4 separate regions of the Homo sapiens genome follow, and regions 2, 3 and 4 are each linked to region 1. The links are contacts of gene promoters, found by promoter capture Hi-C in blood cells and fetal thymus (Javierre and others, 2016). All regions are on one chromosome and are shown on one strand. Each heading gives the region's core, a stretch centred on a gene start or on the middle of the fragment in contact. The rest is flanking DNA. Distances are from core to core; before and after follow the strand shown. Region 1 holds the start of POLR3E (RNA polymerase III subunit E). Region 2 holds the start of LOC105371125 (a long non-coding RNA gene). Region 3 overlaps ZP2 (zona pellucida glycoprotein 2). Region 4 overlaps ANKS4B (ankyrin repeat and sterile alpha motif domain containing 4B).

Region 1 (7,060 bases), core at 3,526-6,025:
GGGCTTTAGCAGAGAAAGGGAATTTATTACAGTGATAAAGGGATGCCTCCAAGAGTGGACAACCCACTGGGCCTTGGAAAGGGTCTGGAGCTGGAAGCCAGAAAACCATCAGGATTTCCCTGACTCTGCTCTTCTCACTCTCTCATTCCCTCTTTTTCTATACACTGGCTTTTGTCTACCTCTCCAACTCACCTCACAGAATATAGCCATGCGAAATCCCCCTTTCTTCCTAGTTTTAGCCAGCCTCAGAGACTAATTCCAACGCAACACGGTCAAATTAACAAATCGGGCCGGGTGCGGGGGCTCACGCCTGTAATCCTAACACTTTGGGAAGCTGAGGTGGGCAGATCACTTGAGGTCAGGAGTTCGAAACCAGCCTAGCCAACATGGTGAAGCCCCATCTCTAATAAAAACACAAAAAAATTAGCCCGGCATGGTGGCGTGCATCTGTAATCCCAACTACCTGGGAGGCTGAGGCAGGATAATTGTTTGAACTTGGGAGGCAGAGGTTGCAGTGAGCCGAGATCACGCCAGTGCACTCCAGCCTAGGCAATGGATCGAGACTCTGTCTCAAAACAAACAAACAAACAAAAAAAAAACAAAATCAGTAACTCACGGAGTCTCAGTTCACATTCTCAAGAGAGAATTTGATTGGTCCAACCTGAATCCTACGTCCACTGAAGAACGGTAGAACCCACTAGCCATGGCTGTGGGGGTGGGGCGTGCAGCACAAAGGTGGCTGCCAGGGACCCACTCTCTGGCTGGTCAGGCAGTTCCTAGAAAAATCAGACTGGGCAAAGATGCCAGCAATTATCCTTGACTGTGAGGATATTTCCTTTTGGAAAATCCAGTACCCAACTCACAAACAAAGTCCTTCCTGGTACTAAAATACCATGACAAACACTCCTATTGACTTAAAGGGGTTATTCCTCATTCAGCTTTGAACTCCCCACAATGCCTACCCTTTGTCTTCAATCCATGGCTGCTTCTGTATTTTTTTTTAATGTCTTGAAGAGCAACAAACTTTTCTAGCACAAGAAAATCTTTGCATATCATTACATATGTTAAAGGTAGATGGATGGCCAGGTGTGGTGGCTCACTCCTGTAATTCTAGCACTTTGGGAGGCTGAGGTGGGAGGATAGCTTGAGATCAGCCTAAGCAGCAAAGCAAGACCCCGTCTCTACAAAAATACAAAAGTTAGCCCAGTGTGGTGGCGCGTGGCTCTAGTCCCAGCTACTTGGGAGGCTGAGATGGGAGGATCATTTGAGCCCAGGATGTCAAGGCTGCAGTGAGCTGTGATCATACCACTGTACTCCAGCCTGGGCAACAAAGCAAGACCCCGTCTCTCTAAAAAAAAAAAAAAAAAAGGTGGTGGATGGAGGGGGAGAAAAGCCAGGCTAAGGAGGGATTGAAGAGGAAAGACATAAAATGCCCAAATGTTAGGGGTGTGTACCAACTGGATATTAGCCAGAAACTTGAATCATGGCCCTGAAAAGTCTAATACCAGTCAATGCAAAATGAGAATTCTACTTATAAAAGTGTGATTTATATAGTTTTTGATGTGTCTAAAGCATCACCAGCGTTCGTAGAGTTCCTGCCTAATTCCCCCATTCAGTCACCTTAAGCATTGACTCCACTCCCTGTGTTGAACAGAACTAATGGAGAAAGTAATCCACGTAAATGACAGAGGGAAAGAGAAACGATAGAGAATGATAGAGGACAAAACCTTAGATATGAGGGATATTTGAGATTTCTTACGCCAATAAATGTGAAAAATCAAGTAATGGGGCTTTGTTTTCCCAGAAAACGACAACTTGCCAAAGTTGACTCAGGAAGAAATAGAAAAAAAAAAAAAGTCATCAAAAGTCATATAATTTGGCAAAATGGAAAAATATATGCATATCTATATCTATATAGAGAGGGTCTCACTCTCTCACCCAGGCTGGAGTGCAGCACCTGAATCTCGGCTCACTGCAGACTTGACCTCCCTGGCTCAAAGGATCTTCCCACCTCGGCCTCCCAAGTAGCTGAGACTACAGGCACATGCCACCATGCCCGGCTAATTTCTTTTCTTTTGTTTTTTGGTAGAGACAAGGTTTCTCGATGTTGCTTAGGCTGGTCTTGAACTCCTGGCGTCAAGCAATCCTGCCACCTCAGTCTCCCAAAGTGCTAGGATTATAGGAGTGAGCCACTGAGACCAGCCTATTATTAATATTATTATTATATAATACTAGGGAAAGTATAAATATAGACCAGCAATTTCATTTCTAGTGTATACCCTAGAGAAATGTCCATACGTAAGACAAGGAGCCATGTGCAAGGATACTTCCTGCCATATTGTGTGTAATGACAAAAATTTAGTAACAACTTAAAAGTTGTACATGGCATGGAATGAATGAATTAGATCTATAGGCATCATAACAGACCTCAAAAACATAATGTTGGGCCTGGCACAGTCTCTCATGCCTGTAATCTTGGCTACTTGGGAAGCTGAGGTGGGAGGATGGCTTGAGCCCGGGAGGTCTAGGCTACAGTAAGCTATGATTGCACCACTGTACTCTAGCCTGGGTGACAGAGCAACACTCTCTTAAAATAATAATAATAATAATACTGTTGAAATGAGAAAAGCAAGTTTTAGGATATCAGTACAATGTGCTAACATTTATATAAGTGAAAAACATACAGATAACCATTTTAGATATTATTCATAAATTTTATAGTAAAAATGTAAGAAATTATTGGAAAGATACACATCAAATTCATGACAGTTATAGACAGGGGAGAATGGGAGGGGGACTTATTTCTATTTGCAATGGTCTAATAATTTCTATTTGTAATAGTGTGATCTATTTTTTATTTATTTATTTATTTATTTATTTATTTATTTATTTATTTATTTGAGACCGAGTTTCTCACTGTCGCCCAGGCTAGAGTGCAGTGGTGGGATCTCGGCTCGCTGCAACCTCCGCCTCCCGGGTTCAAGCAACTCTCCCGCCTCAGCCTCCCGAGTAGCTGGGATTACAGGCATGTGCCACCACGCCAGGCTAATTTTTGTATTTTTAGTAGAGACGCTTGAACCCAGGAGGCAGAGATTGCAGTGAGCGGAGATCGCACCACTGCACTCCAGCCTAGACAGCAAGAGCGAGACTCCACATCAAAAAAAAAAAAAAAAAAAAAAAAAAAAAAGAAAAGAAAAAAGAAAAGGAAAAAAATGCCACAATACTAAGTCATTAATTTAATGCCAGGTGGTGGCACTATGGATGATAATTTTTTTCTTTGTAATTTTTGTGCATTTTTGTTTTTAATATCTTTGCATATCCACACGGATAGGTATTTTAAAATACAGTCTGGTGAAAAATAACAGCCAATTGCAGATCTATATGAATAATGTGACAATATTTGTGTTCAAATCCATACACAATAAAAACAAAGCTATCTTCTATGGCTATATCTATATATATCCATATAGATATAAACATATAAATTCACAGCAAAAGATCTAGAAAGATATATAGTGTTTTAGTCCATTTTCTGTTGCTTATAACAGAATACCTGAAACTGGGTAATTTGTAAAGAAAAGGAAGTTATTTCTTACAGTTATGGAGTCTGAGAAGTCCAAGGTCAAGAGTGTGCATCTGGTGAGGGCCTTCTTGCTGGTGGGGGACACCTGCAGAGTTCCCAGGCAGTACAAGCCATCATATGGAGGGGGTGCTGAGCTGCTCCCTTGCTAGCTAAGGTCTCTCTCCCTCTTCTTATAAAGCCATCAGTCCCCCTCCCAAGATAACCCATTAATCCATTAACCCATTAATCCATGAATCCATGAAGAGATTAATCCATTCATAAGGGCTCCACCCTCATGATCTAATCACCTCTTAAAGGGCCCACCACACAATACTGCCACATTGGGGATTAAATTTCCAACACATGAAATTTGGGGGACACATTCAAACCATAGTTCATATTAAACAGATAATAATGGTTAGTTACCTCGGCGGAGGGGCCTAGGATGCGAGTCAAGGTCAAAGAGCATTTGTACCTTATCTGCAAAGTTTAAATATTTTGCAATAATTCGCGTGTTATTTGTGTAAGTAAAAATTTAAACATAATTTTTCAGAGACAACTGCCCAGACCAGCTCCAGGGTTTGGCCGTCAGATCCCCTGGTGCATGTTTCTGATCAGATCAATTTCTTCTCCCGGAGACACCCAATCCGGGTCGTATGGATTACCTGTGGGTTAACCAGGGGTCTCCGGGTTAACCATCCAACTCAGAGTAAAGTTTCTAAAAATGCGTTTTGCTCTAATACCTATTCGGAACCAACCTGGGTCTAAAGACTGGAGCAAGTGTTTATTTTCCAAAACACGGCTTTTTAAAATAATTCTATAGGGATCACCTTGAACACACGTTAAGCAAAAAAAAAACCTCAGCGAAAACGCCTCGCAATGTCCAGATTAAATGCAAAAGCAAAAGCATTAAGTAGCTTTCTGGCATAAACATATTGCAGCTGGGTAGCGTGGCCGAGCGGTCTAAGGCGCTGGATTAAGGCTCCAGTCTCTTCGGGGGCGTGGGTTCGAATCCCACCGCTGCCAGGGTTGCTGTCTTTTTGTCCCCGCTGCATACACTCCTGGCTCAGTTTTGCGCGTGCCATCAGCGCCCCCTGCTGCAGGGCGGGGCTCACGGCCTGCATGAATGGCGCGGCGGAGGGGGCGGAGCCGCGTGCACCGGGGCGGGGCATTGTGGGTAAGAGGAAACGCTGGGGCCGGCCCGCTCCCCCCCACGTGTCCGCCGGAGTTTCTCCACCAGCAACATGGCCGCCGCCTGAGAGGAGAGCCGGGCCGCCGCCGTCTCTGCAGCCCGCGGGTAACTGGGCCGTTGCCGCCGTCCGCGCTCGGCCCCCGCGGAGAGGTGAGTCCCGTCTTGGCAGTGCCCGAGCTGGGGCTTGAGCCGGACCGCACTCACGACGTGGGCCTGGGCTAGATTCCCGAGTAGGCCAAGGAGGCCCGCGCCGCGCTGTGCCTAGCAGCTGGAGGCCTCTCGGGACTCGGGCGGGGAGGAGGGGCAGCCGGCTCCAGGCCGACCCCGGACTCTGACTTCCTTGACCTGACACCTGGGAGTTGGGGAGGCCGCGGCCGACGCTGGCGGCGGTGACTCAGGGTCCAGCCGACCTGCCCTATCCGGGCCTGGGAGGCCTCCTACGGAAGAAACACCTGTCCGCGCGTCGGGTGTAGTGGCGGCTCGCGGCAGGGACTGCGTGGTGGGCGTGAGAAGGGGGGCCTGACCACCCGCGAGGGAGCAGAAACCCATTGGACAGCGAGGCTCGGGATCGGCGGCCCGCCCCGATGGGCAGGGAGGGCACCTGCGCCTGCCGGAGCCCCCACTTCGCAGCTGAACCGGATTAGCCTCTGCCCGGCGAGGCCAGGGATTCCTCATTCATTTATTCAGGCAACCATTCAGTGTTTACCGAGCCAACTCTGTGTTCCGGATACAGCCCTGACCATTCGGTCCGAGGAGGTGTCAGTAAACAAACAAGGTCGTTCCTTTGGGTTAGCTTTAGAATTCCTTGGGCTTGGAGGCGGAAAGAAGAGATCTTAGCGATCTCCACAGTTTCCTCATCTGTGAAATAGAGATAATAGAAATTCCTACCTCATAGGGTTGTGGTGACGGCTCAGTAGAAACCGGGTGACGCTCCTGCTTGCAGCGTTTGACTTGTGGCTTAGCGTCATTACCCGCTTACGTTGGCAGAAAACATGTTGTCAAGTAATAACAAACCTTCCCAGAGGTTACGTTTATTAGCGTCCTGTCCTTACTCCTTCCCCGCAGGGGTCTGGAGGTCGGTACTTAGTTTCCCTACTTTAGGGATGAAAATAGGGAGGAATACCAAACCCAGACAACTCAGGTGGGTCACAGATGCCAAGCAGCTGTGGTGGGATTTGAACCTGCACAGTTTTGTTCTCGGGTCCAAGCTCTTACCCACTTAACCATACTGCCGTTTATCAGAAAACCGTGCAGTATAGTGGTTAAGAATAAGAATAAGGATCTTTGACATAGCGAGACCCAAGTTTCTGTCCTCATTCCACCTTGGATGAGTTGCTTATATCTGAACCTCAGTCTCGTCATTTCCAAATTGAAGATGATAAATCTCTATTGATAGGGCTAATGAGAAGATTAAATATAAAGTATTCTTTGTACTATATTGAGTGTCAACTTCGTGCCAGGCACTGTTCTAGGTATTGAGAGAACCAGCACTGGATTTTTTTTTTAAAGTAATGCTCCCCATAACAGCTTTGATGAAGTAAAGTATGATTGTCTGCATTTCATAGTTGAGGAAACTGAAGCACTGAGAAGCCTTCATGGAGCTTACGTTCTATTGCAGAAGACAAACAACACCTGAGCAAATAGACCAGGTAGTTCCAGATTAAGATGAGACCCACCAAGGAAAGAAAACAGAGATGTGGTAGGGCCTGGGAGGAGGCTGGGGGAGGCTTTTAAAATAGGGTGGTCAGGGAACCTATCCTCTCCTGCAGGCGGTGATGATATTTAATAAAAAGGAGCAACCTTGGAAATCCCTGTGGGAGAATAGATGATGTGCAAAGGACCTGGGGTGGACTGGGGCTTGCCTTGTTGGAGGCCCAGCAAGTGGCTACCAGCCTGGATGGTGAGGGGAAGACAGAGACAAGATTATGTAGGGCCTTAGGTGGCTCATGGAAAGGAGTTTGGGTTTTATTTTATGTGACAGTGGCAGTTGACAGGTCTTAGGCAGGGAAATAATATGATTTACTTTTTTTTTTTTTTTTTTTTTGAGATGGAGTCTTGTTCCGTTGCCCAGACTAGAGTGCAGTGGCAAGATCTCGGCTCACTGCAACCTCTGCCTTCTGGGTTCAAGTGATTCTTCTGCCTCAGCCTCCCGAGTAGCTGGGATTACAGGCGTGCATCACCACGCCTGGCTAATTTTTGTATTTTAAGTAGAGACGGGGTTTCACCTTATTGGCCAGGCTTTTCTGGAACTCCTGACCTCAGGTGATCCGCCTGCCTCGGCCTCCCAAAGTGCTGGGATTACAGGT
Region 2 (7,547 bases), core at 3,445-5,944, 1.0 Mb before region 1:
TTTTGCCCATGTTTTATTTGGGTTATTTGTTTTTGGCTTGTTGAATTGTTTCAGTTCCTTGTAGTTTTGTATATTAGACCCTTGTCAGATGCATAGTTGCAAAATAAACTTGGGGCTTATGATACTTCGCCTGATTATTTACATAAAACACAGTGGGCATAGTGAATGGCTTTTAAAAGTTGGCTTTGCTGGGACTTTTATACTAAATTTTGGATTAGACTTTTAAAAGTCTTGAGGCTAGGAAGCCAAACCAAGTATTTGCTTGGCTGTATCTGTAATACCTGTATGAATTGGGTTAATTTCTCTCTTCTTGAGTTCCCAAAATATACTGAGGCTCGTGGCCCTGCCAGAAAGTGACATTCTTTACTTAGTGCAAGCACAGAAACCATACAAGGGAACTGTGTAGACAAGGAACCATGCCAGACTTTCCAAAGGGCTTTTTATCAGCACTATAAAATTGTAAAGCTAATCTCAATTCCTCCAAGCAGTCTGGTCATCTCTGAAAATATGCCATTCCAGCCAAAGCCTTGATAAAATAGCCAGTGTATCTAATTATGTCCTGTTATAAAATAAAACAGATCCTTATTGAACTTATGCAAATAACTATTTTGCCATAAATTAAGAATACTCACAGTTTCCAAATTTGGGAGAAATCCAGTAGTGAGAAAGGCAAATGCTTCAAATTTGCCCACAAAGGTATATTTACCCAATTTTTGTAAGCTATGAATAGCTCAAAAGAAAAAAGGTTTATTAACTCTGGAAGCAAAACATAAAAAGAATCAGCAATGTTTCAAGCAAAAAAGTTATTAAAAATCATCTTTGTCCTCTATCAGTTTAGTCCCATGTAGCTAATTATTATTCCACTTGATGTTGGGTTAGCAACCCTCATGAATGCATCAGGTTTTTTATTAGAGCTCTGGAAGTTTTTGCCCACTCCAATGGTGTGATCTCCAAAGTTATCAGAAACCTGGATTCAAGAGTACTTGTCATAGTTCTTTCCATGAAGTTCCTTAAGAAGAAGCCAATTTTGGACTGTAGCTGATTATAAACCACTTTTTGAGAAGAATCAAAATAAAACAATAATTGAGAATGACAAATCTCTTAGAATAGACATAGTTAAAGACAGAATTTTTTTTTTTTTTTGAGACAGAGTCTCACTCTATCGCCCAGGCTGGAATGCAATGGCGTGATCTCAGCTCACTGGAACCTCCACCTCCTGGGTTCAAGCAATTCTCTTGCCTCAGCCTCCCAAGTAGCTGGGATTACAGGCGCCGGCCACCACGCCCAGCTAATTTTTTTTTTTTTTTTTTGTATTTTTAGTAGAGGATTTTGCCATGTTGGCCAGCCTGGTCTTGAACTCCTGACCTCAGGTGACCCACCCGCCTCGGCCTCCCAAATTGCTGGAATTACAGGCATGAGCCACCGCACCCAGCCTAAAGACATAATTGACAAGGATATTTGATTATTTCTGTGGCATACAATTTAACATCATTGTAATGATTACCGATAACATATACCAAGACATATCAGAATTGTAGGAATTTCTTACAATTTTGGAACATACTTTAATAACACTTTTATGTAAATATGACTCAAAGAAAGTCAAGCACCATTTCTTATTTGCCAGTGTTTCCTATATAATTTTAACATATTAAATAAGCCTACTATGTCTCTCTTGGACATCTAGGAGTTCCTTTTGGAAGATACTTAATTTTAGGCCGGGCGCAGTGGCTCACTCCTGTAATCCCAGCACTTTGGGAGGCCAAGGCGGGTGGATCATGAGGTCAGGAGATGGAGACCATCCTGGCTAACACGGTGAAACCCCATCTCTACTAAAAATACAAAAAATTAGCTGGGCGTGGTGGTGGGCGCCTGTAGTCCCAGCTACTAGGGAGGCTGAGGCAGGAGAATGGCGTGAACCCAGGAGGCGGAGTTTGCAGTGAGCCAAGATCACGCCACTGCACTCCAGCCTGGGCGACAGAGCGAGACTCCGTCTCAAAAAAAAAAAAAAGGAAAATACTTAATTTTAGAATTTGAAATTTGATTTTTGGAAGTATGTCAAATACTAAAGGCTTAAAACACTTCATCAAAATAGAATCACTGGTCACTGTAAAATAATAGTCATTCATTTACTCAAAGTGATAATTCAAAGATTTCAAATAGAAAAGCCTTTACTCTTTGTTAGAGAGGAAATTGTTTTCCAAACAACCATAAGACCTATTTTTTGGTAGAGTTTGAGAAGGTATGATATAACAGAAATATGTATTTGGTCTTCATCCCTTGTTCCTGGCACAGAGCTCCCACAGTCCTTGGAATTTCTGGAATGAATGGAATATCTTTTCTTATTCAAAACTTGACCATACGTGAGTTTATGCTAATAAAGTGACCCCAGGAAGGCCCTTAGATAGCTTGAGGATAGGTGCTGGTTGCCAGAGGAATCAACCATGTGATGAGGATTGAAACTTTCAGCCCACATCCTCACCCCTGATCTCCAGGAGGGAAGGAGACAGGAGATTGAGTTCAGTCACCAAAGGCCATTGCTTTAACCAATCATGATTACATAATGAAGTCTTGATACAAACTCTTGAACAATGAGATCTGGAGAGCTTCTGGGTTGGTGAACCCATCGGTGTGCTGGGAGGGTGGCACACTGGAGAGGGCACAGAAGCTCTGTGTCCCATGCCCCTTGCCCTGTGCACTTCTTCATTTGCCTGTTCTTTTGTAATAAACTGTAATTGTAAATGTAGCACTTTCCTTAGTTCTGTGAGTTGTTTTTAGCACATTATCAAACCAGAGGAACAATTGTGGGAGTCCTAACATTTGTAGTTATCCAGGCAGAAGTGCAGGTACCCTGTATTCCCTATTTGTGGCTGTGTCTAAAGCGGGTGCAATCTTGTGGGATTGGTTCTTTAACCCATGGAGTCTGTGCTAACTTATAAGCTTAAGCAACAAATGAGTCAAATAAAAAATCACAAGGGAAATTCGAAAATACTTTGTAGTGCTAGAATTGAATTCAATTGTAGGACACCCAGTTGGGGTGTCAGAGAATAGGACAATTGGTTGTTTATTTAAAAACCAAACAGGAGGACCAATGTAAATTATTCTTTAGATGTTTGGTGGAATTCACCATTGAAGCCATCTTATCCCAACCTTTTCTTTGCTGAGAGGTTTTTAGTTACTAATTAAATATCTTATTATAGGTCTATTCAGATATTTTACTTGTTCTTGAGTTAGTTTTGTAGTTTGTGTGTTTCTAGAAATGTGTCCTTTTCATCTAGGTTATGAATTGTGTCCTTTTCATCTAGGTTATCAATTGCCCTACATTTGTTCATAGTATTCTCTTGTAATGTTTTTTAATTTTTGTAAGATTGGTAGTAATGTCTTCTCTTAGTTTCCTGATTTTAATAATTTGAGGCTTCTTTCTTATTTTGGTCAGTCAATATAAAGGTCTTTGATTTGTGTTGATTCTTTAAAGGGATTGTATATTTTCCCTGGCCTGTTGTTTTTACATTCTCTATTTATCTCTGTTTTAGTCTTTATTATTTCCTGCCTTCCACCGGCTTTGGGTTTGGTTTGCTCTTCTTTTTCCAGTTTTTAAGGTGGAAGACTAGATTATTTATTTGAAATAGTTTTAAATGTAAGAATAAATGTGAAAAAACTAAACTGCTTTTCTTATAAGTTTTGGTATACCATATTTTTGTTTTCATTCATGTCAAAGTATTTTCTAATTTCCCTTATGATTTTTTATCTGACTCATTTGTTGCTTAAGTTTGTATTGTCTAATTTACACATATTTGTGTATTTTCAGATTTCCTTCTGTTACTGATTTCTAATTTTGTTCCATTGCAGTCATAATAAGATGCTTCATATTATTTCAGTTTTTTATAATTTATTAAGACTTGTTTTGTGGCCTAATTAATGGTCTGTCCTGGATAATTTTTTTATGTACACTTGAGAAAAAAATGTGTATTTTGTTATTGTTGGGTAGAGTATTTTATATATACCTTTAGGTCAGGTGGTTTATTTTGTTGTTCATATCTTATATTTGTTTGATCAATGTAGTTGTTCTATAATTATTTAAAGTGGGGTATTGACATCTCCAACTACTATTGTTGAAAGCCCTTAAATCTGTCAGTTTTTGCTTCATATATTTTAGGGCTGTGTTGTTAGGACCATATATGTTTGTTACTGTTGTATCTTCTTCATGAATTAACCCATTTAATAGTATATAATGTCCTTCATCTCTTATAACCGTTTTTATCTTAAAGCCTATTTTGTCTGACATTAGTAGAATCATTCCAGCTCTCTTTTGGTTACCGTTTGCATTGAATATATTTTTCTGTCTTTTAAACTTTTATTTGTGCCTTTAAATTTAAATTGAATCTGTTGTAGGTAGCATATGGTTGGATCATGCTTGTTAAAATCCATTCTGCCAATCTCTATCCTTTAATTGGAGCAGTAATCTATTTATATTTAATGTAATCACTGATAGGGAAAGACATACTTCTACCATTTTGTCATAAGAATGTCATAAGAATTTACATATTAGGTGCAAACTTACCCTCTACCTCCTCACTCAGGTGACACCCTCTCTTCTGTCAAAGTGAGAGTTGAAGCCAGCTGGGCTGCTGGCACAGGTGCCCGGCTTTTATTCCCTTATTTGGCCCTGCCCACATCCTGCTGATTGGCCCATTTTACAGAGCGCTGATTGGCCCATTTACAGAGTGCCGATTGGTCCATTTTACAGAGTACTGATTGCCAGCTGGGCTTCTGGGTGGAGTGGGGACTTGGAGAACTTTTGTGTCTAGCTAAAGGATTGTAAACACACCAATCAGCACTCTGTAAAATTGCACCAATCAGCACTCTGTGTCTAGCTAAAGGATTGTAAATGGACCAATCAGCACTCTGTAAAATGGACCAATCAGCACTCTGTAAAATGGACCAATCAGCACTCTGTAAAATGGACCAATCAGTGTTCTGTAAAATGGACCAATCAGCAGGATGTGGGTGGGGCCAAATAAGGGAATAAAAGCTGGCCACCAGAGCCAGCAGTGGCAATGTCGGATCCCCTTCCATGCTGTGGGAACTTTTTTCTTTTGCTGTTCACAATAAGTCTTGCTGCTGCTCACTGTTTGGGTCCACACTACCTTTGTGAACTGTAACACTAACCACGAAGGTTGTAGGCTTCATTCCTTAAGTCAGTGAGACCACGAACCCACCGGGAGGGACAAACAACCTGGATGTGCCACCTTTAAGAGCTGTAACACTCACTACAAAGGTCTGCAGCTTCTCTCCTGAGGTCAGCAAGACCACAAACCCACTGGAAGGAAGAAACTCGGGACACATCTGAACATCTGAAGGAACAACTCTGGACACACCATCTTTAAGAATTGTAACACTCACCGCAAGGGTCCGTGGCTTCTTTCTTGAAGTCAGCGAGACCAAGAACCCACGGGAGGGAACCAATTCTGGCCACAAAAGCATCTTACAAATATGCTTTTTGCTCAGACTTATAATTTCATCTTTTTTTCCAGTAATTTGAACTCAGTCTTGAAGTCTTACAGTGACAGTTCAGAGCCTTACCTCTTAAACATGTTTCTTATTTACTCATATATATTCATAAACTGTTATACATATTTAATTTAGTATTTAGAGGAATCTCAGCATCAAGTTTGTTTCTCTGAGGATGTATGTCCTTTCAACTGATGATATATTCCTTATCCTCTTTCCACTGTTGAGTCCTAGGCTACATTTCCTATCACATCTTTGCTTTTTCATTGGTTATATAAAATAAACGGTATGAGAAATAATCAGCATTGGTTTCTTGTTCGCATGAGATGACAGGAAGACAGATGATATGGACATCAGCTTTCCCAAAAGGATTTTCCAAAGCTGTAATTATCAACACAAACTATGTTTCAAGAAATCAGGGGTAGTATACTTTATGCTAAAAACGGAGGGTTTGTGAGAATAATGTTACAGCTTTTAATTTTCTCTGTTTAATTTTATCAACTTGGGAGACTTTTGTTATCCTGGGACAGTTCATTTCATATAAAGCATGCTAACATTATCTTTTTCATTGCAGATTGGAATAATACTTTTAAAAACTTTCTGCTTGATTCATTCCTGCTGGTACCCATTTATAACCTTGGGATGAGCATCAGCAAATACTATGATATCCAAGAGGTGAATATGTTGTGTTCCTGTTGAAAAGTATTCCTAACTCCATAAATTACAGTACAGAAAGTGAGTATCTGAGGCTCTACAAATCTCATCAGAGCTACTGGTAGTCAATTACTTATTACATGTGAATAATTCTACCTACATTACTGTGAATCTTGACAATAACTCAAGTTATATGTTATCCTCATTTTGAAAAAACTAAACCTTACACAATGTAAAAACTTGCTCAACACCACAAAATTTGTACAAGATAGCACTAAGATTCAAAGCTTATGTGCATAATGCATTTTCTCTGTGGGAAAGAATCTCTGTGATTAGTATCTATATTGTATTATACATTAATCTCAATAGAGGGGAAAGCACTTGAAAAAATTTAACACCCTTTTATGATGAAACTTCTCAACATCTTTGCATGTGCTTATTTGCCACATGTGTATCATCTTTGGTGAAGTGACCGGTGAACTTTTCTTTCATTTATTGTTGAATTGGTCTTTTTTCTTACTATTGGGTTTTGAGAATTCTTTGTACGTTCTGAATATCAGCCCTTTGTGTAGTAAGCCATTTGCAAATATTTTGTCCCAGACTATGGCCTTTTATTTTTTTCAAAGCATCTTTTAAGAACCAAACGTTTTTAATTGTGGTGAAGTTAAATTTATCATTTTTTAGTGAATTGTGCTTTTAGTGCTATATCTAAAAAACTTTGCCCAATACAGAGTCACAAAAGCTTGATTGGATGTCTTCTTCTAGAAGTTTTACTTAAGAGAAATGAAAGCATATGAACATAGAAACACTTGTATGCAAACATTCATAAATAGCTTTAATTATAAAGGCCAAAAATTGAAAATAACCCAATGTCCATCAACATGTGAATGGGTAATCAAACTGTGAATTATTCATACAATGGAATACCCTCAGCAATAAAAATGAATGATCTACCAAAAAAGAGACTTTTCAGCAAAGGAGGACTAGAATGAAACATCTTCACTTTGAGTAAGGAAATCTAGAAATATCTATTGCTAATATCATTTTCAAGGCAATACCATTGTGGTAGCATGAAATACATAAAACATTTAGGGAAAATTTTAAAAAAGATGTGCAGTACCTGTACACTGAAGACTGAAAACATTGCTGAGAAAAATTAAAGATGACTTGAGATAATGGAGAAATATACCTTATTCATGGATCAGAAGACTCAATATTTTTAAATTGTCAATTGTCCCCAAATTGATTTATACGCTCAAAACAATCTCAATCAACATCCTAGAGGCTTTTTATTTTTGGTAGAAATTTAGCTGATTCTAAAATTTATATGGAAATTCAAAAGAACTTCATTATCCAAAAATATATATTTTCTTAATTGCAAG
Region 3 (7,856 bases), core at 3,473-5,972, 1.1 Mb before region 1:
CAACCCCTGTGCTGCCCACGATGAGACAGCTTCCCACTCAACACATCATCACTTTCAAACCAGAAGCAATGTTGTGCTGTGGATTTTCTGGTTATTGACACAGTGGTGGGCACTATCAGAGGTAATTCACATCTTTGCATCCAATGGGAGAGAAACTAAATTCCCTGTTGACTTAAAAGGGAGAAACTGAGGCAGAATTAAAAGTAGAGAGTTTTTTGGGGCCAAGTTTGAGGATTGCAACCCCGGAGCATGGATTCAAGTTGACATGAGTTATAGACTCCTATTAGCAGCATTTACAAGTGGATTTCTAAAGGCAAAAAAGGGGGGACAGGGAGTGAGCTGATGCACAGTTCTTTGTCAGGAATTCTCATTGTTTTTCAGAAATAACATTGATGTGTGATTGGCTATACATTGTTAAGCTATAGGGTGTGGTTATATGTCTGGTGCAGCATTATTAGGTTAACTTAAAGCTACTTGTGGCAATAGTAAGCAGTTTCAAGAGATGGATACTTAGCTCAAGGGAGGAGTAGGATGTGATGACTGTCTCATCTTTTTTCCTTTTTTTTTTTCTTTTGAGATGGAGTCTCACTCTGTTGCCAGGCTGGAGTGCAGTGACATGATCTTGGCTCACTGCAACCTCTGCCTCCCAGGTTCAAGCAATTCTCCTGTCTCAGCCTCCTGAGTAGCTGGGACTACAGGTGTGCGCCACCATGCCCAGCTAATTTTTGTATTTTTAGTAGAGACAGGGTTTCACCATGTTGTCAGGATGGTCTCGATCTCTTGACCTCGTGATCTGCCCACCTTGGCCTCCCGAAGTGTTGGGATTACAGGTGTGACCCACGGCACCCAGCTGACTATCTCATCTTACTGTCTCTGGCCCTGATAGTTTAGAAGGACTTATATTTCTCAGATCAAAGTTCTTTTCTTTTCTCACCCCTGTCTCAGGACCTGTATTCTCAGCAATGCCTCTTCTTTCAACTACGATACATCACTGTTTGGAAATGGAACTAGTTGCAACTTAAGTGCCAAGTTCCTGAAGCTATAAACTGCTCCCCATGCTTTTAGATCCTATGTGCAAGCAACAGTGTGTGTTTGTAATGTGTTGTCTGTGATGAAGTGTGGTAGGCTCTGCCTTCACTAGCACAGTGATTTCTATCCAGGGATATGTGTCAGAGTCATCTGAGGAGCATGGATTAGTTTTCTTTCACTGCTTAGACAAATTATTACAAGTTTAGTGGGTTAAAACAACATAGATTTATTCTGCTACAATTCTGAAGGTCAGAAGTTTGAAATCACTTTCACTGGACTAAAGCCAAGGTGTCGGTGGAGCTGGTTCCTTCTGGAGGATCTAGGGGAGGATCCATTTCCTTGCATTTTCCAGCCTCTAGTGTTCCCCTGTATCCCATGGCTTATAGCCCTTTCTCCATCTCAAAGTGCATCACTCCAACCTCTGCTTCCATCATTGTACTGCTTTCTCCCCATAGTCAAAACTCCCTCTTACAAGCACACATGCAGTTATATGTATGGCCTACCTGGATAATTTAGATAATTTCCCCATCTCACCGTTTTACCTTAATTATGACTGCAAAGTCCCTTTTGCCATATTAGGGAAAATTCACAAGTCCCAGAGGTTAGCACGTGAATATCTTTGGGGCCATGATTTAGCCTCCTATAGAGCCTAAACATGCTTAGACTCCACTCCCTAAAGATTCTAGTTTAGTAGATGGTGTCTAAGTTTTTGTTTTTTGTTTTGTTTTGAAATGGAGTCTACCTCTGTCGTCCAGGCTGGAGTGCAGTGGCATAATCTTGGCTAACTACAACTTCCACCTCCTGGGTTCGTGATTCTCCTGCCTCAACCTCCCAAATAGCTGGGATTACAGGCACCTGCCACCATGCCCACCTAATTTTTTGTATTTTTAGTAGAAACGGTGTTTCACCATGTTGACCAGGCTGGTCTCAAACTCCTGACCTCAGGTGATCCGCCTGCCTCAGCCTCCCAAAGTGCTGGGATTACAGGAGTGAGCCACCATGCCCAGCTGATAGTGTCTAGTTTTGTAGGTGGTGTCTCCCTAAAGATTTTAGTTTGGTAGATGGTGTCTAGGCCAGAGGTCTGTACAATCAGGTGTACATTCTACCACATATGCACTTGATTACATATGCCTTGGTATATAGCACACAGACTTATTCAAGTCACAGTTATTGTCCATAATGTTATCTGAGTTTTTATTTAGAGTTAGAACAGTGCTATTTTCTTGATGTTGAGATACTCCAATGCTGACTGGGCAGTGCCTACATCAATACAACGGTTATCTTGTTGAACCCTCACACGCTTCCAAATTAGGTTGTGTTCCCTTTTTACAGATGCGGAAGCAGGCTCAGAGATTGTTCTATCTGCCCGAGGCCACACAGCCAGGGAGACGTAGATCCCGAACCCAAACCCAACTCTTGCTCTAGAGCCTGCGCATCCCACAGAACTTCCTAATGCAGAACAGGGCAGGGGAAAGTAGTACATTACATTACAGGTGCCTTCCCAGGGCACACAAGTCTGTTTTCAACTCCTGCAACCTCCACCATCAATCAGAACTGCTCAAACTATTAGAACCCCAAAGCTCCATCATTCTACTCTTGACACCTGTATGACAATTACAGCCCATCACTACGTGATAAAGGAGATTGCAAGCACACTAACGTGGTTGAAGCAGCAGTCTCTCAGGATTTAAGCTCGACTCTCTTCCCACACAGTTCCTGTCTGAGGAGGCTGCCTCCCCCATATATAGTAGGATGCCTACTTTCAGAAGGCAAGAACACGACTTTAGTCAACTGCTCCCAGGCTACCATGGCAACAAGTGTTCATCCCGGCAGCTGCTCCACACCAGCTTGGCTTTCCACTCTCAAAGTTCTGCTTTAGCATTTTTGGCAAACACATCAGAACCAAGTCACGCTGTGGGCTGCCTTGAGACCCAGGGGACTTTGATTCCCAATATGACTCTATACAAGTGGACCAACTTGCAGCTGAGAGGCTCTAGCTCTGAAATCAAGGGGCTGTGACATCCTGGACAAGCTTCTTTAGGGCTCAAGTTGCTCATCTGTAAAATGTGCACTTTTAAGCCATGTTTTTCAAGTTGTGGGTAGTGACTCAGTATTTTAATTTCCTATTGTTGCTGTAACAAGTTTGTTTCATGCCGTTAAGCTATCTCACAATTCTGGAGGTCAGAAGTCTAAAGTGGTACAGCAGAGCTGTACTCTTTCTAGAGGCTCTATGGGAAGATATTTTCTTGTTCCCCTACTAGAGGCGGCCTGTGTTTTCTGTGACTCTCTATCATTCCAATTTCTGCTTCCATTGATACATCCTATTCTGACCTTGTTTTTATTTTGAGACAGAGTTTCACTCTTCTTGCTCAGGCTGGAGTGCAATGTCGCAATCTCGGCTCACTGCAACCTCCAACTCCCGAGTTCAAGCAATTCTCCTGCCTCAGCCTCCCATGTATCTGGGATTACAGGCGCCCGCCACCATGCCCGGCTAATTTTTTGTATTTTTAGTAGAGATGGTGTTTCACCATGTTGGCCAGGCTGGTCTCGCACTCCTGACCTCAGGTGATCCACATGCCTCAGCCTCCCAAAGTGCTGGGATCACCGGCATGAGCCACCGTGCCCTGCTGACCTTCTTGTTTTATAGGGACACTTGTGATTGGGCCCACCGGGATGATCTTACCATGTCAAGACCCTTAGTCACATCTGCAGAGTCCATGTTGCCATGTAAAACTAATATTCACAGGCTCTAGGGATTAGGATGTAATTCCTAGACATGGGTCGGGGGTAGGTGTCATTCAGGGTCAGGAAGTCATTTAAGTGGCCATTTTTAAAAATGCCATTAAAAAGCATGGTACGTGAGATTTAGTTATGATATACAATGCAACTTGATAAAGTCACACAGAATTTTGAATCTAAAACTATTTAGCAGAATGCCTTGGATCCTTAAAAGAAGGTCCAAAGAAGGCTTTTGATGAGACAATTTGAGCTTTTGACCCTATTACTCTAGAAATGCCAGACCCTCTACATAAGGTAGGTGTGGTTCTTTCCCTACATCAGAGTCTTATCTGTAAGACCTAACCAAAGGATTTAGAAAGCTACCTTTTAAGTCTGTGTGGCAGAATTCTAGAACAGGTGCCGGGCACGGTGTCTCATGCCTGTAATCCCAACACTTTGGGAGGCCGAGGCAGGCAGATGACCTGAGGTCAGGAGTTTGAGACAAGCCTGGCCAACATGGTGAAACACCATCTCTACTAAAAATACAAAAATTAGCTGGGCTTGGTGGCAGGTGCCTGCAATCCCAGCTACTGAGGAGGCTGAGGCAGGAGAGTCACTTGAACCCAGGAGGCGAAGGTTGCAATAAGCCGAGATTGCACCTATAGAAAACCACAAGATGACCAGATAGACATCACGATATTCAACCTCAAGGTTAGATTTTTGAAAAACCCAAGAGTATAATGACTGAGCTGACATTTAAATCCAGCCACTAGAAGCTTTCATCACTTATTCTTCCTGCCATACGTAGATTTGAAATATTTCCTTGCAAAAATTTTAGACTCAAGTTTTCTAGAATACAAGTGAATTTCCATATATCTTGAAGGTCTCTAAGAGCTGCAGTATAAAGCAGACACTAGTCATGTTGATGACATAATTACTTAGAATAAGACTGGCTACCCTCAGGACGAAGGCCTCAGGAGACGGTCAAGATCGAATGCAGGTAATGGAAAACTCACTCTAGGCTCAGTTGAATGGTGGAGTCTGATTCTTGGAATGTTATAACTGAGCCTTAGGACTCTGGCACTTTAGTATTCCTTTCCCTACCAAAGAAAGATTGCTTGTCTTTAGTTATAAGTGGGAAGGTAACTAAGTCCTTTTAAGCTCAGGAAAGTTGTAAGCTTGAGTGTAACTTGAGTTAGGAATTACCTTGAAGTAAGTTCTTATATTACTTTCTTAGGAACATCTGGTTTCCCTTCCCTTAAAAGAAGGGGGGTTGGATTTATGCCAGTGATCATGGGTAGCTTGCTGGCTTCTTATCCTGTGTAAGAGCTTGTAGACTCAAGTGTACCCCCAGAGCTGGGCTATAGCTAAAGCCCTACTGTTGACTGGGAGTGTCAGAGGACTCATGTATTGGGGTTAGAGGATCAGAAGGGGCCAAATGACAGGAAACAATTATACCATGAACTTCCCTATTTGTATCTATATACAAATCCTGCCCAGAGGATTGTGGCTAGGTACTGCCTCTACACTGAGGAACAAAAGAAATGATCCCTTGTCATCTAATCTTAATAAGAATGTGGAAGGCAAGAGGCTTATTTTGACTGCTTTATTTAGAAGCCCATTTAGTGATTTGACACAGTCCTTTTCTCGTACAGGTAGTAGATGAAGCCTAGAGTTGCCACCACACCTGCAAAGGCAGCCACAGCAGCCACAGCTTTGGAACCAACATCTCCAGCAGTCTTGTGCCCTTTGGTGTCCATAGCACCTACAAAGGAAGCAGACATTTGAGTCTTAAGTATTTTTAAATAAGGGTAAGTGGAAGCCTTACATAAGGCTCCCCAGAGAAGGGGGTAAAACTAAGCCTTCAACAGGCTTATTTCAGAAGTTTGCAACATTGAATAAACTTACCTCGTGAGCCAACCTCCTCCCCTGTTTCACTCCTACTCTTCTCCCCACTGCTCCCACTTGCTTTTAGATCAGATGAGCCGACACCTGGGAAGAACCTGAGAGTTTAGTACAACATCTTCATGCTAGTCGATGTGGTTAGCTGTCCCCTGAGGGTGTGATCCCACAGGTTGTTCATTAAGGCTATCTCAGGTAAGGGTATGTGTTAACAGGCACAAACTAATACACACTTAAGTTTGGCCATAGCATGTTAAGATGCACATGCTCTGACCTAATCTTGCTAGAAACATATCTTAAATCTTTGACTACTATACAAGAAATTCAAGAGGATTTTTTTTTTTTTTTTTTGTGGCCGGGTGTGGTGGCTCACACCTGTAATCCCAGCACTTTGGGAGGCTGAGGCAGGCGGATCACTTGAGGTCAGGAGTTTGAGACCAGCCTGGCCAACATGGTAAAACCTTTTCTCTACTAAAAATAATAAAATTAGCTGGGCACAGTGGCAGGTGCCTGTAATCCCTGATACTCGGGAGGCTGAGGCAGGAGAATCACTTGAACCTGGGAGGCAGAGGTTGCAGTGAGCCAAGATCACACCATTGTACTCCAGCCTGGGTGACAAGAACAAAACTTTATCTCAAAAAGAAAAAAAGAAGGATTCTAGTATGGACTGAGGACAAAACTAGAAATAAACCTATAGATATCCATGAATGAGGATCATGACTAAGGTAGAGCCACGTGGAATCCTAAGGGTTCTTTGTACAGATATAAGGTAGATAAGACAGATTAGAGACCAAGTTCTAGATCAGTAGGTAGAAGCTATGATCCTACTTGTGTTGAAGTGATTTCTAGAAGGGTACACAGGAGACTTAATAGAAGCCTACTTCTGGGAAGAGACTTAGTCTTTTATTCTTCTATTGTTTAGACTCACCACGGGTACATAGTATATGTAAGCACTGACCGCTTGGCATAAAAAGCTAAGAACTTGAATCCAGGAAGTACTCCAGGCTTTAGGTCCATACCTCTGAATGAGGAGTCATCTGACAACAGGAGAATGGGTCCTGGGAGGCTGACTGTCATTTTCTCTGCTTCAGTGGCCCCTGTGGCTGGAGACAGATGATCAAGTTTGTGTTTGGCCTCTGGAATAGTGGTTCGAGAGGTGTGTCAATGGAATGCTTAGAAGTAGAAGCTCTCTGGAGTATTTTGTTCATGTGGTTTGTCTTGCCTTTGCAGGCGAGGTTATGCCCTTTACTGTAGAAGTGGGATGGATTCTTGGGGTTGGGTGTGGTGGCTCATGCCTATAATCCCAGCACTTTTGGGAGGCCGAGGTAGGTGGATCACCTGAGGTCAGGAGATTGAGACCAGCCTGGCCTGGCCAACATGGTGAAACCCTGTCTCTACTAAAGATATAAAAGTTAGCTGGGTATGTTGGGGGGGTTCCTATAATCCCAGCTACTTGGGAGGCTCAGGCAGGAGAATCATTTCCCTTGAACCCTGGAGGTGGAATGAGCCAAGATCACACCATCTTACTCCAGCCTGGGCAACAAGAGCAAAACTGTCTCAAAAAAAAAAAAAAAAAAAAAAAAAAGGATAGATTCTTAAAGAACTCATCGTCTATAGAACTAGACAAGAAACTGTTCATCTTAGACCTGTCACATGAGTAAGGTAGACTGGACCAAGTTTTGACTGGGCCAACAAGAGCTCTGGGCAGTAAATAAAGTATGAGTTATACCAGTCCTTAAGATCTTCTATTCTAAAAAGTTGATACTTGCTTTGAATTAGACTCACAGAAACAGGAATTTGAAGTTTTTACCTCGCCTGTGCCTAGAGGACACAGGGCAGGTCACAGAACACAGTGGGGAGTCAGGGGAGAGTCGATTACAGATTAAGGCACTGCAGTGGAAGTAGACCTGGAGACAGAAGAGAGTTACATGGAATCGATGCACTAACATTTAACCTGTCCCTGGTGACTTCTGAATCACTTACCAGGCTAGAGAGCACGTGGGCTTCTGATACAAAGGCAAAAGCCTTCATGTCAAACCTCTGATAGTGATCAGGATGGGTCACAGAGGAGCCGACTGGATGGAAGGTGGTCTGGTAGTTGTCCAGGTCATATGCACAGCTAGGAGGTATGCACCAGGGAGGGATGTCAGTCATATGCATCTTGGAGTCAAATTCAATGTCTGCCCAGATTTAGTCATACGTAATAT
Region 4 (7,397 bases), core at 4,361-6,860, 1.0 Mb before region 1:
AGTATCTGTATTATCAGAGTTCTCAGCATTGGCGCATGGCTCTGGCCATCATTAAAAATAGTTACTCGACTTTTTATCTGTTCCTGTTTGTAACTCAAGTCCTTGTAGGAGAGGAGGGTTTGCTGCCTTGGGCAGGATTCCAGTAGGTTTTCATTCATTCCACAAATACTGGAGCACCTACTATGTCCCTGTTCTGTGCCAGGCATTAGGTTTATGGCCTTAATACCATCTAATAGTATCCCCAATTCCACCTTAAACTCTTGTAGAATGACACACTTATATGAACCTGCAGTCATGGAAGTAAGTTGAGGAATAAATAGAGATGTAATGCCCTTTTAATGAATAATGTTTGTAACAGACACTGTTTGCTACCTCTCCAACATCCTTTTCTTTCTTCTTTCCTGCTGATGGGGACTGAGTTTGGTTCAGTTATTTATTTCCCCACATGTGGCTCAATTCGGGAGGGTAGCAGTAGCATGCTGGAACCAGCTTGTCAGAGTTATTTCCAAATTTTAGAAAGTTTGACAGCTAAATATAGCCATTCTTTCTTACTTTTTATTTTTATTTTAAAAAAAAATTTAATGGAGGCAGGTCTTGTTATGTTTCCCAGGCTGGTCTTGAATGCCTGGCCTCAAGCAAATCTCCCACCTCAGCCTCCCAGTGCTGGGATTACAGGCACGAGCCACTGAGCCTAGCCTTTTTTTTTTTTTTTTTTAAGGCAGGGTCTTGCTGTGTTGCCCAGGCTGTAGACAGTGGTGCAATCATAGGTTACTGTAAGCCTGAGCTTCTGAGAACATAGCCATTCTTAAAAATAAAATTACAGGCTGGGCGTGGTGGCTCACAACTGTAATCCCAGCACTTTGGGAGGCTGAGGCGGGTGGATCACCTGAGGTCAGGAGTTTGAGACCAGCCTGACCAACACGGTGAAACTCCATCTCTACTAAAAATACAAAAATTAGCTGGGTGCAGTGGTGGGTGCCTGCAGTCCCAGCTACTCGGGAGGCTGAGGCAGGAGAATCGCTTGAACCTGGGAGGTGGAGGTTGCAGTCAAGCCGAGATTGCACCACTGCACTCCAGCCTGGACGACAGAGCAAGACTTCATCTCAAAAAAAATTATATAAACTTATAATTTAACAAATTATATTAAAAAGATAACACGAAAGTCTCACTTTCTACTTATTTTAATACATTTCACTCTTACCTGTCTCTTAAGATGATTCATGTCCATTATATCTACATGGGGGAAATAGTTGATAATGGTACGCTACTGTGTATCTCTTCCAAACTCTGTCCAGTGATGTTACATTGGTAGCTTGAAATTTGCCATGGTGGATGTATTTACACCACAGAAATTGGCACATGCTACAAATTAGGATTTTGATGTTATTATTTTCTTGATAAGCCATTGAACAATCCTATCCCTAGTTTCAGGGCAAAATCTAATTGATCTAAGTTAAACACAATAGTATGTTTCCCATCTCTTAGGCGTGTAACCTAGTGCTGGCCAATGAGACAAGAAAGTTGTTTGGCTGGAGAATTTCTTAGTAAGTTTTTCTCACTTCTAAAAAGGAGACACAGCCAGGCACGGTGGCTTACACCTGTAATCCCAACAATTTGGGACGCCAAGGCAAGCAGATGGCTTGAGGCCAGGAGTTTGCGACCAGCCTGGGCAACATGGTGAAACCCTGTCTCTACAAAAAATTAGCTAGGTGTCATGGTGCATGCCTGTAGTCTCAGCTACTCAGGAGGCTGAGCAGGGAGAATCACCTGAGCCTGGGAGGTCAAGGCTGCCAATGAGCTGTGATCACACCATTCCACTCCAGCCTGGGAGATAGAGTGAGAACCTGTCTCAAAACAAAACAAAGGAAACAAACAAAAAGGAGACACACGGTAGAGATGGGCTCTGTTTCTGGCCATGTGGTTTTAAGATGGGATGGTTCTAAGACAGTTGGACTTGCAGCCAGTATCTTATAACAATGTCAAGTCAGGATGAACATGTTTGTATTAACGTGCCTTTTGTTCTTTATTTTTGTTTTGATTTTTTTGGGCCTGCGTTCAGAGAAAAAAAGTCCAACATGTATTTTTTTTCTCTCTCTCTCTTCTAGAGGGGACCCTGATAGGTGTGACATCTGGGGAAACACTCCTCTACATTTTGCAGCCTCCAATGGCCATGCCCACTGCGTCTCATTCCTGGTCAACTTTGGTGCCAACATCTTTGCCCTGGATAATGACTTACAGACTCCACTGGATGCTGCTGCCAGCAGGGAGCAGAATGAATGTGTTGCTCTCCTGGACAAGGCTGCCACTGCACAGAACATCATGAACCCCAAGAAGGTCACCAGGCTGAAGGAGCAGGCTCAGAAGAATGCCAGGAGGCAGATCAAAGAGTGTGAGAGGCTCCAGGAGAAGCACCAAAATAAGATGGCCCACACCTACAGCAAGGAGGAATCCGGGACTCTCTCTTCTTCCAAGGGTACCTTCTCCAGATCATCCCCTTCAAATGCTTCTGCTCCTGGCACATTCGGGTCACTATCTAAGGGCATTAAAGACACTTTCAAGATCAAGTTCAAGAAGAACAAAGATACAGCAGAACAGGTGGGGAAGGAAGGCAGAAGTGGGCAGAGGAACGTGATGGAAGTGTTCAGAGAGGAAGAGGAAGACTCGTTCTCAGGGGACTTCAAAGAGAAGCTCCAGTTGTCAGCAGAGGAGGACGGCAGTGTGCACCATGAATCCATTCTCAATCGTCCAGGTCTAGGAAGTATTGTTTTTAGAAGGAACAGGATATCGAGTCCTGAAGACATCTCAGATAGCAAGAGAGAGTTTGGTTTTAAACTGCCCAGTGAATTGCTTCAAAGACAAGGAGCATCAGAGGCTGATGAGGGTGCAGCTGATGAAGAGGGAGAGGAAAACGGCCTCAAAGATGATCTGCCGTGGGATGACGATGAAGTGGAGTGGGAGGAAGATGTGGTCGATGCCACGCCCCTGGAAGTGTTCTTGCTGTCTCAGCACCTGGAAGAATTCCTGCCTATCTTCAAGAGAGAGCAGATTGATCTAGAAGCTCTGCTGCTCTGCTCTGATGAGGACCTTCAGAGCATACAAATGCAGCTGGGTCCCAGGAAGAAAGTTCTGAATGCTATCAACAGGAGGAAGCAGGTGCTTCAACAGCCTGGGCAGCTGGTCGACACCAGCCTGTGATGGAGAGTTTTGGCCTGGAGCATTGGGGTGATGCTGTGGCCCGCTGGCAGCACTCCAGGCGGCACCCCCTCTTTACCCAATGCCAGACCACTGGGAATGGATTCTAGGGCATCGGAAATGCCTACCTGAGAGAGAGACCCAAACTTTACTCTGGGAGGTAGGCTATGCCCATCCAAATAAATCTCCATGAGAAACTTGAGGAGACTTCATAACAAGAATCTGGCATTTCTCTTCAGTTATCTTATATGTACATATAATTGTTTTTGTGGTTGTTTTGTTTTGTTTTGTTTTGTTTTTTGGAGATGAAGGTCTCAGTCTCTTACCCAGGCTAGGGTGCAGTGGTATGATCATAGTTCACTGTATTCTCAACCTCCTGGGCTCAAATGATCTCCTCCCACCTCAGCCTCCCAAGTAGCTGAGACTACAGGTTCACACCCCCCACACCTGGCTTATTTTGTATGTTTTAGTAGAGGTGGGGTCTTGCCACATTGCCCAGGCTGGTCTCAAACTCCTGGCCTCAAGCAATCCTCCCACCTCAGCCTCCTAAAGCACTGGGATTACAGGTGTGAACCACCGTACCCAGCCTATCTTTTTGATACTTTTGAATAAAGAAAGGGTCATATGCATGACAGGAAAATGAAAGAAACTTCCTTTACTTTTCTATCTCTGGATTTAAAATTATAATCTCATCACATTATCCTGCTGCTTGCTTTCCGATCTGTGTAACCTGGGAATTCCAATTCTTTTTCTCTCCTGAGATCTATGACTTTGCCTAGTGGTAGAGACTAGAGTTCTTTCCTGGCCTGCGGCTTGATGCCCAACTTAAATGCATCTAACCCTTTAACAAATGTGTACATGTTTACAAGTAATGGAAATGCGTCTATAATACTCCTGCCTGAGAATAGAGACAGAGTGGTGGTGGGGAGAGTGAAGAAAGAGATAGAATACAGGTGGTACCTGTTGTGGACTGAATTGCGTCAAATTCATATGTTGGAGCTCTAACCCCTAATGTGACTGTAATTGGAAATAAGACCTTTAAAGAAGTGATTAAGGTTAAATGAAGTCATAAGAATGCAACCCTAATCCTGTAGGACTGGTGTCCTTTTTTTCCCTTTTTTTTTTTTTTTTTGAGATGGAGCCTTGCTCTGTCACTCATGCTGGAGTGCAGTGGCGTGATCTCAGCTCACTGCAACCCCCGCCTCCCAGGTTCGAGCACTTTTCATGCCTCAGCCTCCTGAGTAGCTGGGATTACAGGCGTGCACCACAACGCCTGGCTAAGTTTTTGTATTTTTAGTAGAGGCGGGGTTTCACCATGTTGGCCAGGCTGGTCTCAAACTCCTGACCTCAGGTGATCCACCTGCCTCGGCCTCCCAGAGTGCTGGGATTACAGGCATGAGCCACTGCACCTGGCCTAGGACTGGTGTCCTAAGAAGAGGAAGAGACACTTAGGTGGAAGGCACACAGAGAGGCCACGTGAGGACACAGTGAGAAGGTGGCCGTCTGCAAGCCGAGGAGGGGGCCTCAGGAGAAACCAACCCTGCAATCACCTTGATCTTGGGCTTTCAGCCCCCAAAGGTGTGAGAAAATAAACTTCGGTTGATAAACTGCTGTTGTTGAAGCCATCCAGTCTGTGGCATTTTGTTATGGCAGTCCTAGCAGAATAATACTGTCCTAAGTAAGAGGGTTGGGGAGGAGACCAAGAAAAATACAGAAAAAAAGTCTGTCCAACTGCAATTGATGAGTTTTGTAAGGGTAAACACCTAGTGAAACTTAAGGGGAAAAAAAACTAAGTTCTTTGGAGGGAAGATTTGATTGTCAAAGGAAATTTCACATTTTCATGCTTATTATGTACACATGGTTTATTTACTGTTGTCTGTCACCATTGCCGCATATCTGAATATGTGTAGGTTCCACGATAGAAACTGACAACACTTGGCTCATGCCTGTAATCCCAGCACTTTGGGAGGCCCAGGCAGGCAGATCACCTGAGGTCAGGAGTTCAAGACCAGCCTGGCCAACATGGCGGAAACCCGTCTCTACTAAAAATACAAAAATTAGCCAGGTGTGGTGGCGTGTGCCTGTAATCCCAGCTACTTGGGAGGCTGAGGCAAGAGAATTGCTTGAACCCAAAAGGTGGAGGTTGCAGTGAGTTGAGATTGCACCACTGCACTCTAGCCCAGGCGGTAAGAGAGACTCCATCTCAAAAAAAAAAAAAAAAAAAAAGAAAAAAGAAACTGACAACACTGCTGCTGACATTTTTTCAATGGCAATCCCAAATTCAAACTGAAACCCCACTGAAGAGCTAAGCTTCATTAGATCTCTACAGGCTGACTTACATCAAGTGGAATTTACTGTTGATTCTGGGTATAATACAGAAACAGCTGTTTATCTTCAGCTTGCTTTCTGATGCACATCTGTTTGGGTTACTTCAAGAGGCATCATGGAGGATTCAAGTTTAGGGAGGATACAGATGCTCAAATCTGATGAACAATTGGCTTATTCTTCCTCAATGAATATATTCAGAAAGCTTGTTAGCCATTGAATAAACACGTTGCATTAGGGGATGATTGTTTACAAATACCTTATCTTGTGGAATAAACTGAAGTTGTGCTTTCCTTCATTAACGTGCACAGAAGCAGTTGGCAAATAGAAAGTGCTCAAAAAAGTTTGTAGTCTGTGCCTGCCACTATTATATTTCATCATCATAGATGCCAGAATCCCCTCTTCACCTATTGCCCGGAATCTGCCTAATGAGATATTTGCTCCACCCCCTGCTGTAACTACATCATAGCAAGAGAGCCATCACTCAGGTTGGTAGAAATGAACTTGAACATTGACTCTCATCCCTTTTTAGGAGATATTTGCCACTAGGGGTCTCATCAGGTACCTCTATGCTCTTCTTAGGGGTTCTTTTCTTTTATGATTGACAGAATTAATAGGTGAGCGTTCTCCAAAGTTCTCAGCATCAAGGATATAGTCTCTTCGTCACAGAGTATTGTTATATAATAAAAAAAGGTTTATACCATGTTATAAGATGTTATCAATGTTCTAAGAATTCCAGATCTTTCGAACTAAATACCAACTACAGGGGCTAAGAGAAGATGCCAGAGCAATACAAAGGCCTTGATAAGAGACAAAGACAAGAGGATTATGAGCCAGGATGAGCTTCAAGTACTCACTGATCTCAGACCTCCATCTCTTAAACTAGATGCTTAGAGTAGCTCAATCCAATATCTGGTCACCCCTACCACCTCCTGGCCCCTCTTTTCCCCCTCTATGTAGCTTGACATAAAAGTCAACAAGAGGGAAAAGCAGCTGGGAGCATTTCACCGAAGAGGAGAGTTTGAGAAGTTATAGTGTGGTAAATGTGTATTGTGCTTATATTTCAGGCCATTGTGTAGTACAGGTCAGTTATATGCTCAGAATTCCTAAGTCCAAGTTACCAGCCCAGACCATTGCTTTGGGCACCAAATACTTAAGCCCAAATCTAATCTGACATCTCCTCTCACATGTCTCACAAGTACCCCATACTCAGTGTGTCCAGGACTGAACCCATTTTCTTCCAGGTTGTCAGTTCTCAACTTGGATGATTTTGCCCTCTGTCTCCTAGAGGACATGTGGCAATATCTAGAGACATTTTTTGATTGCCATGATAGGGGAACAGTGGTGCAACTGACATCCAGTGGGTAGAAACAATGGGTGCTAAACATCCTAGAATGTACAGGACAGCCCACCACCACAATGAATTATCGAGACCCAAATAGTGATCGTGCTCAGTTTCAGCTGCATTAAAACATGCAGCTCTAAATCTTCATTTTTCATAAATGGAAAATTTAACCCAATACTTCTTTTCATCACCCAATTGGTCACCAGGCCCTTTCAACTTTTCAATATGTCTCAGAGCTAAATCCTCTTTGATGTTTGCAAGATGACCTATTGGTTCCTGCCCCCAACCATCACTCACTGGATTGCTGTAAGTATCCTTATCTGTCTTTAATTCATTCTCCACAAGGCTGGTTGAGTCACGTAATCTTTTTAATATGTAAGTCTCTTGTCACTTTCTACTTTACTGTTGCTTTTTTTTTTTTTTTTTTTTTAAGACGCAGTTTTGCTCTTGTTGCCCAGGCTGGAGTGCAATAGCACGATCTCAGCTCACCGCAACCTCAGCCTCCTGGGTTCAAGTGATTCTCCTGCCTCAGCCT

The links. The method cuts DNA at HindIII sites, captures the fragments that hold promoters and counts their contacts. A CHiCAGO score of 5 or more calls a contact.
Region 2: a contact is called between a fragment that was not itself captured here and the fragment with the promoter of POLR3E in region 1, in 1 of 17 cell types (erythroblasts). The highest score is 5.9, in erythroblasts.
Region 3: a fragment that was not itself captured here is called in contact with the fragment with the promoter of POLR3E in region 1 in 1 of 17 cell types (erythroblasts); the score reaches 7.8 in erythroblasts.
Region 4: a fragment that was not itself captured here is called in contact with the fragment with the promoter of POLR3E in region 1 in 1 of 17 cell types (erythroblasts); the score reaches 6.6 in erythroblasts.

Annotation. Positions count from the first base shown.
Region 1 is chr16:22,292,634-22,299,693 of GRCh38, forward strand. POLR3E (RNA polymerase III subunit E) reads left to right here and starts at 4,776. Exons shown (of 21, transcript NM_018119.4): 1 at 4,776-4,904. TRL-AAG2-4 (tRNA-Leu (anticodon AAG) 2-4) reads left to right here and starts at 4,507; the gene lies at 4,507-4,588. RefSeq lists silencers at 4,397-4,846, 5,857-5,996 and enhancers at 4,520-5,064, 5,507-5,646. The HindIII fragment of the contact is 19,375 bases long and covers 1-7,060 here.
Region 2 is chr16:21,285,093-21,292,639 of GRCh38, forward strand. It overlaps LOC105371125 (a long non-coding RNA gene), which reads left to right and starts at 5,378. Exons shown (of 3, transcript XR_950905.3): 1 at 5,378-5,410; 2 at 6,086-6,246. It also overlaps a transcript of CRYM not described here. The HindIII fragment of the contact is 3,512 bases long and covers 2,939-6,450 here.
Region 3 is chr16:21,192,111-21,199,966 of GRCh38, forward strand. It overlaps ZP2 (zona pellucida glycoprotein 2), which reads right to left. Exons shown (of 19, transcript NM_001376232.1): 15 at 7,633-7,768; 16 at 7,460-7,556; 17 at 6,669-6,752; 18 at 5,656-5,739; 19 at 5,340-5,512. The coding sequence ends at 5,370. Among named protein-coding and RNA genes, the nearest start is that of ZP2, 16 kb to the right of the region's middle. RefSeq lists an enhancer at 2,895-3,044. The HindIII fragment of the contact is 402 bases long and covers 4,522-4,923 here.
Region 4 is chr16:21,247,626-21,255,022 of GRCh38, forward strand. ANKS4B (ankyrin repeat and sterile alpha motif domain containing 4B) reads left to right here. Exons shown (of 2, transcript NM_145865.3): 2 at 2,106-6,225. The coding sequence ends at 3,195. Among named protein-coding and RNA genes, the nearest start is that of ANKS4B, 18 kb to the left of the region's middle. The HindIII fragment of the contact is 220 bases long and covers 5,501-5,720 here.